2 separate regions of the Homo sapiens genome follow, and region 2 is linked to region 1. Evidence: promoter capture Hi-C in human tissues and cell types (Jung and others, 2019). All regions are on one chromosome and are shown on one strand. Each heading gives the region's core, a stretch centred on a gene start or on the middle of the fragment in contact. The rest is flanking DNA. Distances are from core to core; before and after follow the strand shown.

Region 1 (2,700 bases), core at 144-2,643:
GCCAACATGACGAAACCCCGTCATTACTAAAAATACAAAAATAGCTAGGCGCAGTGGTGCGTGTCTGTAATCCCAGCTACTTGGGAGGCTAAGGCAGGAGAATTGCTTGAACTCGGGAGGCGGAGGTTGCGGTGAACGGAGATCGCGCCACTGCACTCCAGCCTGGGAGACAGAGCGAGACTCCGCCTAAAAAAAATGATAATATAATAAAAAAATAAAAAAAAAAGCCAGTTGAAGAACTTAGGTTAGAAAAAGGAGAATGGGATGATCCACAGAGTGGGGTTTCTGAGAAAGTAAAGGTTATAGATTTTAAGCACAGAGGAGGAATTATCTTTAAATTAGAAGAAAAAGCTTGATGAGAGGTTGGAAAGAACACACGCAAGTGAAAATATGTATCTTACTGTATCTACATGTATGTGTATTGTTGTATCTACCTGCAGATATGTATGTCTTATTGTATCTACATGTAGGTATGTATGTATACTTTTAATGTACACATATGCATCTGTGTCTACATATATACATATCTTAGTCTATCTACATGTATGTATCTTACTGTGTCTACACTAAGATGTTTCTTACTGTGTGAGCTACGTTGGAACCTGCTTTTTCATTTATTCTATTGCAACCATTTCCTCCATGCCGGGATTATTCCTCCACATCATTTTTACAGTGTCCTAATACATGCCAGTAGCTGTTTTTGAAGCCATCTAGTAGCGCTGGACATTTTGGCTGTTTGCAATTTTTCACCATCATCAATACCACAGCTTAGTATCTCGAAGGTGAAATATTTGCAGATACCCAGAATTATTTCCTGAGCAGAAAATCCGTGCAGGCGGAACTGCTGAGTCAAAGGTCGGTGGATAAAAATCGCTTTTAAGCCTCACAACCCGCCTCAGGTATGCATTCTTTACCTGAGGAGGAACAGAGAAGCAGAGAGGTTAAATAACTGGCCCAAGGTCAAAAATAATTAGAAGTGGCTGAATTCAAAAGCCGCGCGGGCTCATCAGGCTGCAGTTGGGGTAAAATTTGCGTTTTAGGCAATTTTTTTTTTTTTTTTTTTTGGCGTGTGTCAGTGGGGGAGGGGCCGGGCGGCGGGTAGGAAACTTGTGTCGCAGCAAAGAAGGAGGAGGAGGGGAGGGACTCCCCTCCTCGGTCAGACCGGAGCCGGCCGCACCGAAAAAGGTTGGACTCGGGACTCCGCAGGCCCCCCCAGCCACTCCGCGGGGCGCCTCGGAGGCTGTGACCTCCAGGGAGGTCCGGCTGGGTGCAGCGTGACACGCCGGGGCGGTTGCCAAGGACCTGCCCAATCTGCGGGTCCAGTTGCTAGGGCCTCCATCTTGGGGGCCAGTGGCCGTGGCGCCCCCGGAAGGGGTTGCCGAGTGGGGCATTCACTTCCGGTCTGGGGCCTGCGGCGGCGGCGGTGTCGGCGGCGGCGGCGGCGGCGGCGGCGGCGGCGGCAGCGGGTCGGTGTAGAAAATGGCGCTGGTGCAGCGGCTCGGGCCTCTCCCCGCGGCGCTGCGGAGGGCTTGAGGCTCGCGAGCCTCCTTCGCCGCGCCCCACTTGCTCGTGCACTTTACACACATGAGGTGAGCGGAACAAGGGCCTCCCTCCGGGCGGGAGGAGCCGCGGGCGCTGCCGCAGGGCCCGCAACCCGCGGCGGCGGCAGCAGAGGCGGCGGCGCCGGGCGTCCCCGAGACTTCGGGCCTCGGCGGGAGGGCGCAGGCTGCGTTGCTGCGGAGGCCGAGCGGGCGGCCCGGGGGAGCCTCGCTGCGCCGCGCCGCGGGGGCCAGGCCGGGGTTGCGCCTCGCCCGCGCCGCGGGACCGCAGTCCGGGCTGCAGCCCCGCAGCTTTGTGAGTCCCCCTCCCCCCGTCCTCTCCCCTCCCCCATCCGGCCCCGGCGCGAGCCTCTGCCGCAGCAGCTCCGTTTTCACGCGCATCTCGTTTTTGTGTGTGTGTTTTTGTTTTGTTTTTGTTTTTGTTTTTTTGTTTCAGAGAATTGGAAGCTAAAGCTACCAAAGACGTAGAAAGAAATCTTAGCAGGTAAGATGGGCGAGCTTTCCGTCTCCCGCCCCACGATAATCGTATATTTCTACTCCGATTCGCCTTTTCTGGGTTGAGAAGTTCCCCCGTGACATTTTCTTCCGCACCCGGAGAGCAGACATTCGGGAGAAGCGGCCTGGGGGAATACTGGAGGGATTGCGGGGAGATGCGTAATTACGCGTGTGTTTCTTTCTTTAAAAAAAAAAAAAAAAAGCGCAAAGCAATTCTTGTAAACTTAGTTAAAGCATTCTCACCCTTTTAGAATTTAATTAGGGGACTTGTGCATTAATTACTATTGTAAATGGTTGCAGGCATTGTGTGACTCATGATTGAGGCGGCCCTTATGGCGGGCTGTCAAACTGTTTTGGCTTCCCCGTTATTACTTTGTAGCTCAAATTGTTGCTTTTATAAAAAGATACTATGTGTTCGCATTCCCCCCCGCCCCCCCCCCCCCCCCATACATTGTAGTCAGGCGGATTCTGTTGCATTGGACACAGTTTTGTCCTTGAACTTTACCAAGCATAAGCTGCGTTTTGTTTTCCTTCGAAACTCCATTTCTGTCCATGTTCGGTGTGTGCTCTTTTTATCAGCTGGTAAAATAATTAAAAATCTTTTCTCCAGAAGAGGTTATCGTTCCTGTTGGGCCCTGCTGCTTTT
Region 2 (2,700 bases), core at 53-2,552, 210 kb after region 1:
GGACTCATGGATCAACTGCCCTACAAGACTGAAATCTGGGGGTGTGGAGTGGAGTCTTAGTCACCTCATGTGCCTAGCACATATCAGTGACTCAGTAAATCTGTTTCACTGAATCAATCAACGAATGGGTGAATAAATGCCAGGAATACGAAAATTTAACTAACTTGCCACACTCAAATGCTTCCTGGTTAGCACACTGGATGACAATGAACAGAAGGTACATGAATGCTGACAGTATACATCCAACAGGTGACAGAGGCTCATCACACTATGAGACATCCACTGGCTTCCGGTTTCCAGCACCAAAGCAGTGTGGCAAAGAATGCAAACCAATGTTGCTTTCTTTGGAAAACATAAAAAGAAGCGAGCCATTCATAGTCTTTTTTTCCATCTTTTGCCAACCAGAGGAGTGAAAGTAAATCTGTTCACTCCATGCTGGAGCAGTTCTTTGGGCATGGATGCCGTGCTCAAAGGCCACCACCTGCAAGAAGGCTGGGGCGTCCAGCCTCCACTGCCAGCAGAAGTCAGCCTCCTTACCTGCCGTCGCCTGGGCTCGGCCCCTGCTCCAGTATGCCCGCGGAAGAGGGGACAGTCCCACCCCCAGAGCTGCTTTCAGCCCTAGAGCTCTGGGGAGGGGGCTCTGGGCCAGCGGGCACCACGGTGCTGCCATCTGTGGGCGGAAGTGGCGGCTGGAAAGCGGGGGATATGTGCTTTCTATTTAGAGTGCCACCCCGCCGGTGGGCCTGGAAGTCCATAAGCTTCACACCAAAGCTACACAGAGAGAAGAAACAGTCAACACACCATGCGAGCAGACTACTGAGACAGAAGCCCATCGGTCCACATGTGTTAAAACCACACATGGGGATAGCCACCCAAGCTGCCCGGCATGCAGTGAAGCGGCAAGGACCAGACTAATGGCCACCCCTGAGCAACTCCACTCGGCTTCAAGCCTGAGCAAAGCCAATGAACCTGGTACTGTTCAATGTCTTTGATCAATTTGGGTGTGAGCAGCTAAAAGCAAATAGGCAGGCCTCATCTTGAATGACATCATGTTAGTGTGTTTATCCCCATACTTCCTCTGCTGTTTTTTTCCCCCTTTAGACATGTGGTCTCACTCCACCACCCAGGCTGGAGTGCTTGGCACTCCAGTGGAGCAATCATAGCTCACTACAGTGCCAAACTCCTGGGCTCAAACAATCCTCCAGCCTCAGCCTCTGGAGCAGCTTGGACTACTGGCACACATCACCATACTGGGATACTAAAAAAAAATTTTTTTTTGTAGAGATGCGGTCTCACTACATTGCCCAGGCTGATGTCAAACTCCTGGCCTCAAGTATTCCTCCTGCCTTGGTCTCTCAAAGTGCTGGGATTACAGGCATAAGTCACCACATCCGGCCTATTTCCATACTTCCTAGTTCCCATCTCAAATCTGTTTTTGGGGAATGACACAGAAGTCAAGTCCAGAAGGCCTACCAATGGCAGTGTAAGGTTATCACACCACACTGCCTCTTAACTGAGATGAGATGTAGAAACAATCCTATGTGCATATGCAGACTACATGTGAAAGGTACATAAGGCTGGAAAAGCTGGGCATGGTAGCTCACACCTGTAATCTTAGCACTTTGGGAGGACAAGGTGGGAGGATCGCTTTAGCTTGGAAATTCAAGACCAGCTTGGGAAACATCGTGAGGCCCTGTCTCTACAAAAAACTATTTTTTTAGAAAATTAGCTGCGTGAGGTGGTGCGTGCCTATAGTCCCAGCTAGTCAGGTGTGTGAGGTGGGAGGGCTGCCTGAGCCCAGGAGGTCAAGGCTGCTGTGAGCCATGATCATACCACTGCACTCTAGCCTGGGCACATAACCCTGTCTCAAAAAAACAAAAACCAAAAAGACTGGAAAAAGCCGTTGCTTTGGGGAAGGGAATGGTGGCTGGATGTGGCTGGAGAGGGTGGAAGGAAGGCTGACTTTTCACTTAAGGCGACTGATCTATGAACTTAACAACTTTTTCTTTCAGTTCAAAAAGTAAAAAGATACCTGGCTTCTTGAGCTCGTGCTTACTGGGTCAGCTGGCAGGGAGAATACACAAGGCAGGTAACTGAGAATTGTCTGTCACGTGCTAACTAGACTCATGCACTGTATTCTGTAACTTAAAATATATGAAAGCTAATTTTGTTACAGGTAGAGTCTGTCATCAGGAAATACTACTGAATGTATGAATGAGGGTTCAGAGAGGTAATACGTCTGCATAGAATAAATGTGGATTTTGGAAGGACAGAATAGGGACAGAATAATGCATTCTCCTTTGCTAGGGGTAAAAAATGCAATACAAAGAACAAGAAACAAACAGCACACCTCACTATAAGACTGAGCAATTAAAATAAGAGCTTGTCACTTCGTTTTAATGTAAAACTATTTCTAGTAGTATTATTTAATATACCAAGAAAAGCATATTACTTCCAACAGGCCTCTTAACTGTTAGCATTCCTAGTGAGTACAGTGGCATTTCATCACACACATGGGACAGGTTGGCATCCAAAGGCACAAATTACAAACAGTCTTAATCACCCTTGAAAATCCCATGAATTGCCCATAGAAAAGAGTATATAGAGACACACTGCTTCTCACTAAGTTCAACACTGCCATTTTTTTTTCTTCTAGAATTGGCAAATACTGAGGTTTTTCCCACTGAACATCAAATTCAG

Evidence for each region. The method cuts DNA at HindIII sites, captures the fragments that hold promoters and counts their contacts. A contact is called where the count stands out against the background at its distance.
Region 2: a contact is called between a fragment that was not itself captured here and the fragment with the promoter of TNRC6A in region 1, in 1 of the 25 tissues and cell types used here (IMR-90 fibroblasts).

Annotation. Positions count from the first base shown.
Region 1 is chr16:24,728,258-24,730,957 of GRCh38, forward strand. TNRC6A (trinucleotide repeat containing adaptor 6A) reads left to right here and starts at 1,394. Exons shown (of 25, transcript NM_014494.4): 1 at 1,394-1,589; 2 at 1,996-2,043. The coding sequence starts at 1,585. RefSeq lists a silencer at 1,423-1,732. The HindIII fragment of the contact is 13,221 bases long and covers 1-2,700 here.
Region 2 is chr16:24,938,827-24,941,526 of GRCh38, forward strand. ARHGAP17 (Rho GTPase activating protein 17) reads right to left here. Exons shown (of 20, transcript NM_001006634.3): 17 at 538-771. Among named protein-coding and RNA genes, the nearest start is that of ARHGAP17, 75 kb to the right of the region's middle. The HindIII fragment of the contact is 5,425 bases long and covers 1-2,700 here.